Linked DNA regions of Homo sapiens: region 1 is linked to region 2. The links are contacts of gene promoters, found by promoter capture Hi-C in blood cells and fetal thymus (Javierre and others, 2016). All regions are on one chromosome and are shown on one strand. The core of a region is centred on a gene start or on the middle of the fragment in contact, and the rest is flanking DNA. Distances in the headings are between cores, read along the strand shown.

Region 1 (4,662 bases), core at 1,874-4,373, 110 kb after region 2:
TGAACCAGAATTATTTTATAGCCAGACCTCATTTTGGACAGAAGAACTGCTAACATTATGGTAGGCAGGCTGGTTTTTGTTGCTTTTTTTTTTTTGAGACAGGGTCTCACTCTGTCACCCAGGCTGGAGTGCAGTGGTATGGTCATAGTTACCTGCAGACTTGATCTCTGGGACTTAAGCAATCCTCCCGCCTCAGCCTCCTCAGTAGCTGGGACTACAGACATGCATCACCACACCTGGCTAATTATTAATTTTTTTGTAGAGATGAGGTCTTCCTATGTTGTCCAGGCTTCTTTTGACTGTTTTTATTTATCAAACCCACCCCTGGAATACCCACCAAAGCAGGTGCAGGTTCTAGAGAAGTTTCTGAACACAGCATCACAGCGGATGAAACCTTCGGGAAATGCATATACAATTACTCAAAGAGATGACTCTGAAAGGGATAGCACTCATATACACGTTTGAGTTTTAGGTTATTTTTATTATTATTATTATTATTTTTTTTTTTTCGAGATGGAGTCTTGCTCTGTCGCCCAGGCTGGAGTGCAGTGGCACGATCTTGGCTCACTGCAACCTCCGCCTCCCAGGTTCAAGTGGTTCTCCTGCCTCAGCCTCCCGAGTAGCTAGGATTACAGGCATGCGCCACCATGCCCATCTAATTTTTGTATTCTTAGTAGAGATGGGGTTTCACCATGTTGGCCAGGCTGGTCTTGAACTCTTGACCACATGATCGGCCCGCCTCGGCCTCCCAAAGTGCTGGGATTACAGGCATGAGCCACTACACTCGGCCCTAGGCTATTTTTGAACACCAGTCACATTACTCTCTAGCCACACTCTGTTTTTGGGATTTCAGAGTGGTCATTCACGAGCACAGGTGAAAACCTCTAACAAGTAGTGCTCACACACCGCTTCTGGGATTAAGTTTGCCTTCTTCCAATCCAGAAAAGGGAGATTTGCGAGGCAAACTGGTGCAAGTAGAGGAGAGCTGATTTTAATGGTATCTGGATAGGAGCTATTAATGGCAAACGGTCCTTATTCATGAACCCAAAGCAGGTTAGAAAAATCTGATATGTGGCCAGGCGCAGTGGCTCACGCCTGTAATCCCAGCACTTTGGGAGGCTGAGGCAGGCAGATCACGAGGTCAAGGGATCGAGACCATCCTGGCTAACATGGTGACACCCCGTCTCTACTAAAAATACAAAAATTAGCTAGGCGTGGTGGTGTGTGCCTGTAGTCCCAGCTACTTGGGAGGCTGAGGCAGGAGAACTGCTTGAACCAGGGAGGTGGAGGTTGCAGTGAGCCGGGATCACGCCTCGCGCCACTGCACTCCACCTGGTGACAGAGCGAGACTCCGTCTCGAAAGAAAAAAAAAAGAAAGATCTGGTATGTAACAGCATTTGGTTAGCTTCTGCTGCCACATCAACAATAAAACAGCATTTCACAGGCCAGTCTAGAAAGTGGGATTTTTCTGTCATTCACACTGGCCATTCCGAACACTACCCCCAGTTCATCTGAATTAATAAACATTTATTTAATAAGTACTGGGCATTAAAATGTTGACATGACACTGCTAATCAATGTGTAAAATGCAAGCAATACAAGATGGCCTAGATTTTAAATCAGTCCCAACTTTTTTCATTTGTGGGTTTGTGTGTGTTTGCGGTAGTAGGAGAGGGCACAAGACAGCAATGAGGAGAAAAGTACCAGACTAGGAGCTGAAAAGCTTGGCTCTGGTTCAGACTTTGCCACAAATGGGCCTTCATTTCCTCTTCTGTAAGATGGGGATAGTCTCCCACAGGGTGGCTATGAGGATCAAATGCAACAACTCATGAGAAAAGCGATGGAAACTTATAAAACGCATGCACATTTGAGGGAGAGTTGCTCCTCTTATTACTGAACTCTGAGAATTCCTCATACCCAAAGCACCCAGGAAAACCGCCTAGCATGAGGTCTCAGCAAAGGCCAATCACAGCCCGAGCACTACACAAAGGCCAGTGCAAGGTAAAGAAACCTACAAGGGCTAAACAACGAACAAGAGGAAAGCAAGGAAAGCAGACATGTGGATATCCTGAGTCACAGCATGGAGACAAAAGGTGGTAAAGGCCTTGTGTGCCTCTACTTCCCACAATCCCTGATCAGTTTGGGGTCACTGTATAGCTCTATTTCTAGTACGAGCATAGCCACAGGGGCCAGTCTCTTGCCTTTATTGTCTTCACTTTACTGATAGGACAACAGGTCAATGAAGTGACTTGTTTACGGTCAGCTGGGCAACTAGGCTGAGAAACCAAGCTTCCTGACCCCCACCCCCCGCAATCCACTCTCTCTCATCAGGTGGTTACACACCAACATCAGTTCCCATCTGTGGATGATCCACTATGGGCCAGGTCCTTAAGGGTAGGGGTTTTGCAGGTAAGACAGATTTGAAGAGGTAAAGTCACATGCCTATGGTACAGTATCCCCCACTTATCCATGGTTTCACTTTCCAAGGTTTCAGCTACCTGCCATCAACTTTGCTCTAAATGTATTAAGTAGGGCCAGGCGTGGTGGCTCATGCCTGTAATTCCAGCACTTTGGGAGGCCGAGGTGGGTAGATCACCTGAGGTCGGGAGTTCGAAACCAGCCTGGCCAACATGGTGAAACGTTGTCTCTACTAAAAAAAAAACAAAAAACAAAAAACAAAATCAGCCAGGCACAGCGGTGCATGCCTGTAATCCCAGCTACTAAGGAGGCTGAGGCAGGAGAATCACTTGAGCCCAGGAGGCGGAGGTTGCAGTGAGCAGAGGTCATGCCATTGCACTCCAGCCTGGGCAACAAGAGCGAAACCCCGTCTCAAAAAATAAAATAAAAAATAAAAATATTAAGTAGGCCAGGCGCGGTGGCTCACACCTGTAATCACAGCACTTTGGGAGACCCAGGTGGGTGGATCACTTGAGGTCAGGAGTTTGAGACCAGCCTGGCCAACATGGTGAAACCCCATCTCTACCAAAAAATACAAAAATTAGCTGGGTGTGGTAGTGGGCACCTGTAATCCCAGCTACTTGGGAGGCTGAGGCAGGAGAATCGCTTGAACCTGGGAGGTGGAGGTTCCAGTGAGCCGAGATCACACCACTCCACTCCCTCCTGGACGACAGAGTGAGATTCTGTCTCAAAAAAACAAATAAAAATATTAAATGGTAGATTCTAGAAATAATGCATAAGTCGATTGCACATCATTCTGAGTAGCATGATGAAATCTCACGCCATCCTGCTCCGTCCCACCTGGGATGTGAATCATACCTTTGTCCAGCATGTACTGTATCACAGTGCTTGTGTTCAAAGAATCCTTATTTTACTTAATAATGGCCCCAAAGCGCAGGAATAGCGATGCTGGCATATTGTTATAACTGTTCTATTTTGTTATTAATTATTGTTGTTAATTTCGTACTGTGCCTAATTCATAAATTAAACTTTATCATGGGCATGTATGTATAAGACAAAACATAGTCTATATAGCGTTCAGTACCATCTGAAGTTTCAGGCATCCACTGGGGGTCTTAGAACATATCCATTGAGGATAAGATTTAACCTGGTGCTGTGCAGTTCTAAAGCTGGCCCTCTTTCCACTATCTCTCCACCAGACATGCTGTCTCAGGATTCTAAGAAACCTCGAGAGGCAAGGTTTATTTTGCAATTAGGATGGCTGTCCCTGGTATCAAGAACAGATTTCTTCAGAAAATCAGCACGACCTAGAACTTCTTTCTTATCTAACAGTCCTTTTGCTATTTCTAATGAAAACTGAAAAAGTCAAACAAACTTTATCCAAATAGGAAAAGAACAGATGAGCAGAACTAGACTCTTGATTGGAAGGACTGTGAATGCAAACTTTAACCAGAAACCATTTCCTCTTATCCCGCCCTGCCCCCTCTTTTTGAAGTGCCAGGAGCAGCTACAAAAACAAATTTGACTCCTAGGGCAAGGGGAAGCTTGAGAGTCAAGGCCAAAGGTCCTGAAATCTGGAGGTCCAGGCCCAAGGGCACAGACTTTACCTCTATGAAGGAGAGATCTGGCAGCATCCCTAGCGAGCAGACAGTGAGCCTGAGAGAGAGCTGAATAGAGGGGTACAGTTCCATAAGGCTGACCTCTGCGCTGGACTTGAGGCCGGTGTGCCTAGTGATCTGCAAAAACGAGTTTACATAACAGGCCTTTGTGTTGTCCCAGATAAGAGTGAGTAGAGGAGCTTCAGAATGTTTTAAGGATTTAGAGCCAGCTGAGATTTCCTGAGGACACTGAGGTGGGGAGGAGGGAGGGGTGGGGGAGGGGCAAATTCAGACCTAATCTGTCTCATCTAGGGAGGAAAACAGTAACTGCAGCAATAAAAAAATATATATTTATAAATCCTTGTTTTTAAATAAGAAATGAGTAACACTGATGGCTTCTTCTTAGAGGACACTGGGTGGCTTACGGGACAAACACGGAAGGGAGACTTTTCACTATATATACCCTTTGAAGTTTTTAAAATTTTGAAATTTGAACCATGTGAATGGTTTATCTATTCAAAAGTAAGTCATGGAAACTTTATTTTAAGCATGTTCAAAGTTTTCTGACAACCCTAAGAAAGAGGCAGAGCAAAGACCATTAGTCCCATTTCACAGATGAGGAAGCCTGAGGCTCCAAGGAGAAAAA
Region 2 (4,903 bases), core at 729-3,228:
CTTACTTCCCTGAGCTGTAGGGGAGTGGAGGCCGGCAACGGCTCCCAGCAAGACATTTAAAAGCTTTCTTTTCAATATTGACTGGCCCAGGAAAGCTACTGTTCAAAGGATTCCTTCACCAGCTGCAGGGATGGGGGGTGGGGAGGGTGTTGCACTCTTGCCTGGGCTACCAGCTCTTAGGGCTGACATGAAATAAAATCAGGTTCTTTTTTTTTTTTTTTTTTTTTTTTTGAGACGGAGTCTCGCTCTGTCGCCCAGGCTGGAGTGCAATGGCAGGATCTCAGCTTACTGCAACCTCCGCCTCCCAGGTTCAAGCGATTCATCTGCCTCAGCCTCCCAAGTAACTGGGATTACAGGCGCCTGCCACCACGCCCAGCTAACTTTTGGTATTTTTAGTAGAGATGGGGGTGGTTCACTATGTTGTCCAGGCTGTTCTCGAACTCTTGACCTCAGGCAATCCACCCGCCTCGGCCTCCCAAAGTGGTGGGATTACAGGCGTGAGCCACCGCGACCGGCCAAGAAAAAGAAACACATGAGAACATCTTAACAAAAGGGAAATACTGCAGTGTCTCCCATCTGCAGAAAGAACCACTGAATCCACTTATGAATCCCTCCATCTTCTTCTGTGCACTCACATACACATGTCCTAGTAGAAAATACTTAGTATTGTTTTGTGTGTTTTTGTTCTTGTTATGTAAGCATCAGTGTTGTGCATAATCAGCTTGTGGCTTGCTGTGTCCGCTCATCCTCGTTTGCTGAGTCCTAGCTGATTTGATGGACACCAGGTTGTCTCCAGTTTCTCACTGTAATAAACAATGATGCAGTGAACATCCTGTGCACAGTGGCTTTCGAAGGTAGAAGCCAAGAAGTGGACGTGATGTAAAAACTTTGTCAAATTGCCATTACTTTTATAATTAAAAACAAACCTAAAAGAATATGTCCAAAATGCTTGGGGAGAAGCCTCTAACTCCTTCCCAGCAGATATGTACTCTGGGCAAAGCCTTCAAGAACAAGTACGAATTTGCCAAATGGACAACGTGCTGATTCTGGGATACTGTGGCAGAGGAGACAGAATGCTATCGCTTTTCAAACGGCAAGATTTTACATTTAAACTCACAGAGTTATCCACAAGGCAAGATTCTGTCTCTGTCATAGCTAGGAACAGCTGAAGAGTCTGCCTCTTGCTCCAACATGGCTGGGTACCGTGGCTGGATAACCGTTCCCGGTGCAGGTAACAGGTGGACAATATCACAATATCACTGCACCCCTCTCGTGAAAAAGAAAGGGAACACAGTCTAGCACTCACCAGAGAAGCAGGTTTTTCTTCATCTTCCAGAAATGTGTTCTAAAACACCAGAAAAAAACATCAGCCAATCATCGACCTGTTAACCTAACCCCAGCTCAAGAGATGGAACTCGGATCCCATTGCCAAGTCAGCACCGGCAGGCACAAAGGTGGCAGGGCCGGGAGACACCACTTTCCCGAGAGTCCTATCCCCACCCCCAACAGGGATCGGGAGAGAGCAGTTAGCACAGGGCTCGTCTCAGATGGGCTTCTCACCAGCGGGGTGCCCCTAACCTAGACCCCTTGCCTCTCCAAGCCTGTTTCCCTCTCTTTCCCAGTTACTACTTGGGGCTCTTTGCACGGTCTATGGTGGCACAAGAAGTGGGTTCGGAAACCCAGTAGCTGAATTGAAGCGGAGGGGAGGCTTTTCCGCACCTACGGCTACAGGGCGGCGAGAGCAGGCTTGCCAGGCAACCCTCGAAAGGCCTTCCGGGAAGAGGGGGAAGAGTGACGCTTGGGTGTGGGGGCACATCCCCAGCAACCGGACGAGGCCGCCACCCCCAAGGCCCTCCTGGGCTTCGGATCCCGCGCCAACCCCTCGCCCAGGTCTCGGAGCGAACTCTCCGCGCCAGGCGGGCGGGGCGGAGGGAGGAGGGAGTTGAGAGTGGACGGCCGGGAGTGGGAGGAAAAGCGCAGACGCCAGGAACGCCCCGTGAGTGAGGAGAGGAGAGCGTGGGAGTCACGCGGAGAAGCCAGACCCAGACGCCGACCGGGCACTGGTGGCGCTGCCGGGGTCCCGGGGGTTCCTGGACCCCCTACCCCAGGCCCCTCCAAAGCAACTGGGGTAAACCAGACGCACTGTGAGGCCAGCGCAGCTGCTGGACACGGTCCCCGGCGCCGCTCCAACCAGACCGCGACCGCTAAGCCCCTCCTTTCGAGAAACTCTGGGGCCGCCCCTGGAAGTGGCGGGGCGAAGGGACCGGAGGAGGGACCGGAGGAGCGAGGCGCGCGGCGCAGCGATGGAGCCGGTCAGCACGGGCGCGGAGGCCGGCATGGAGGGCGCGGGAGGTGACCCGTACCGGCGACCTGCGCGGCGCACGCAGTGGCTGCTGAGCGCCCTGGCGCACCACTACGGGCTGGACCGCGGCGTGGAGAACGAGATCGTGGTGCTGGCCACCGGCCTGGACCAGTACCTGCAGGAGGTCTTCCACCACCTGGACTGCCGCGGCGCCGGCCGTCTGCCCCGCGCCGACTTCCGAGCGCTCTGCGCTGTGCTGGGGCTGCGCGCGGAGGGGGCCACCACGGCCGGGCAGGCAGCAGGTGACGGGAACTCCAGAGATGTGACCCCCGGGGATGCGGCCGCTGAGTTGGCCACGGACGGGGACTCAGATACCGATGAAGAGGCGCGCCTGGCGCTGCGCGCCGAGCCGCCGGAGCTCACCTTCCGCCAGTTCCACGCGCGCCTCTGTGGCTACTTCGGCACCCGTGCGGGGCCCCGGCTGCCCCGCGGCGCTCTCAGCGAGCACATCGAGACGCAGATCCGCCTGCGCCGTCCGCGCCGCCGCCGCCGCCCGCCCTGCGCGCCTGGCCCCGACAGCGGTCCTGACTGTGAGCGCGTTGCGCGGCTGGAGGAGGAGAATAGCAGCTTGCGCGAGTTGGTGGAGGACCTGCGCGCCGCGCTGCAGAGCAGTGATGCGCGCTGCCTAGCACTGCAGGTGCGCGCCGGCCACGAAGGGAGGGTGGTAACGCCCGGGAGAGGGCTCGAACTAAAAGCTGGCTGGCTGCGGAGCCCGACAGGACAGAGTCAGAGGAAGGGGAGACAGAGGGCAGCCCCACACCATCCCACTCCGCATCAGCACACTTGCATCTTGCCCCTGTTCCTCCCCATTCCACTCCAGTCCCCAACCCTATTCTTACCACCTATTCCATTCCTGAAAACCCCAATCACACTCAAACAACCATACCCCACTTTTCTGCTCCACCGCCACATCATCGCGTCTTGCCCCTTTAACCTAGGAATTGCACCTGTCTGGGTAGTCTCACATATTCCCTTTCAACAAGCATCTTTCTCTCTCCTTCCTGCCAGGCTTCTGGGAGGTTTAGGAGACAGAAGTGTGAAGAAGGCCCTGTCCTCACCTTTAGGGATATCCCTGCCTCCTGGGGTAGACTGACAGCTCCTTCTGTCAATCAGCAAAGACTTATGGGGCTCCCTGTGGGAGAAACAGAGACAAGTGAGAAACAGACAATGTGGCTCACACTGTGGATCAGGCACTCACGGGCCACCAAGTGCCTGCGGGAACCAGACCCGCTCTGGGCTATTGAGAAGAAACCATGGGGTGAGATAGGGACCCAGCCTTAGCATCTGGGAGCCGTCGACAAACACTTAAGCACTGTGCCAGCCGAGCACCAAGGGCAGTGCTGGGCCGCAGGGGTCAGAGGAGGAAAGGAACAGCCCCTACCCCAGGCGACAACAGGCCAGGAAGAAACTGACATTATATGACCCCGCCTTAGCTCAGGACACTGCAGAGTGCAGGGAAGTGGCAAGGTGTGGTTTTCAGTGTCAGTGTGCATGGAAGCCAGGGTGGAGGCGGGAAACTACTCCTCTGATGTGGAATCCCAAGTAACGTACTGGGAGCCATGGGATGCGCCTGAACGGTCTTCCGGCATCTCTCATGCTTGGTATTTATTGAGCACCTACTATGTGCCAGGTTTGTTTTAGGCTCTGGGAACACACCAGTAAAGACAGATAGAAACCACCCTCAAAAGCCTCTAGTGAGCAGGCACGGGGAGGGCTGGAAATGCCACTGGGGGGAGTCTAGGAGATGAGGAACCGCCACCCGGCAGGCTGAACGCCGCCAATACAGTAGGCCGAGAAGAGTCGCGAGGTTGGTACTATAGAGGGAACAGAATACAGGCGTCGTGTCTCAGTTTCCTTCAGTGAAAAAACGTTGGGGGGTGGGGGATGAGGAGGAATCAGAGCTTGGGCCTCCCTGGGGATGTGGCGAGGGTTAAAGGAGCTTGGACGCACCGGACCTAAGGGCCTGGCACCCGGAAGCAGACGGCGCAAGAAACGTGCTCAAGCGCTTCTGGGTGCAGAGGCATGGGGCCGCCGTCGTGGCGGGCGTTCGTCTGGTGCATCTGGCTGGGGCACTTACCCCCTGCCCCTGCTGCCCTGTCCCCGCAGGTCGGACTCTGGAAGAGCCAGGCGAGCACCCACGAGATGGGGCACGGCGGGCCGGAGGCTGCGGTGCGGGAGCTGCGTCAGGCGCAGGGCGCCCTGGCTGCGGCGGAGGCCCGCGCTGGGCGGCTGCGCCGTGGCCAGGCCGAGGTGCGGCGGCGCGCGGAGGAGGCCCGGCAGGTGGTGCTGCGCAGCCTGCACCGCGTGCGAGAGCTGGAGGCGCTGGCGCAACAGGTGCCCGGCTTGCAGCGCTGGGTGCGGCGGCTGGAGGCGGAGCTGCAACGCTACAGGTGAGCGGGGGCGCGTGCCCTGGGCCCAAGTTCCCCAATTCGGCTCCCATTTTCCCAAACTTCGGGTGTGCAATCCCCCTCCCACGCGCTCTCGTGTTCCGCAGTTTCTCCATGCGTTTATTCATGTATTCTTTCATTCCTTTGTCAGTTC

The links. The method cuts DNA at HindIII sites, captures the fragments that hold promoters and counts their contacts. A CHiCAGO score of 5 or more calls a contact.
Region 1: a fragment that was not itself captured here is called in contact with the fragment with the promoter of EFCC1 in region 2 in 1 of 17 cell types (naive CD4 T cells); the score reaches 5.5 in naive CD4 T cells.

The regions. Positions count from the first base shown.
Region 1 is chr3:129,112,674-129,117,335 of GRCh38, forward strand. All of the region lies in intron 1 of RAB43 (RAB43, member RAS oncogene family), which reads right to left. All of the region lies in intron 11 of ISY1-RAB43 (ISY1-RAB43 readthrough), which reads right to left. Among named protein-coding and RNA genes, the nearest start is that of RAB43, 6.8 kb to the right of the region's middle. RefSeq lists an enhancer at 1-146. The HindIII fragment of the contact is 1,673 bases long and covers 2,288-3,960 here.
Region 2 is chr3:128,999,326-129,004,228 of GRCh38, forward strand. It overlaps EFCC1 (EF-hand and coiled-coil domain containing 1), which reads left to right and starts at 1,979. Exons shown (of 8, transcript NM_001377500.1): 1 at 1,979-2,999; 2 at 4,469-4,752. The coding sequence starts at 2,304. It also overlaps a transcript of CFAP92 not described here. The HindIII fragment of the contact is 12,645 bases long and covers 62-4,903 here.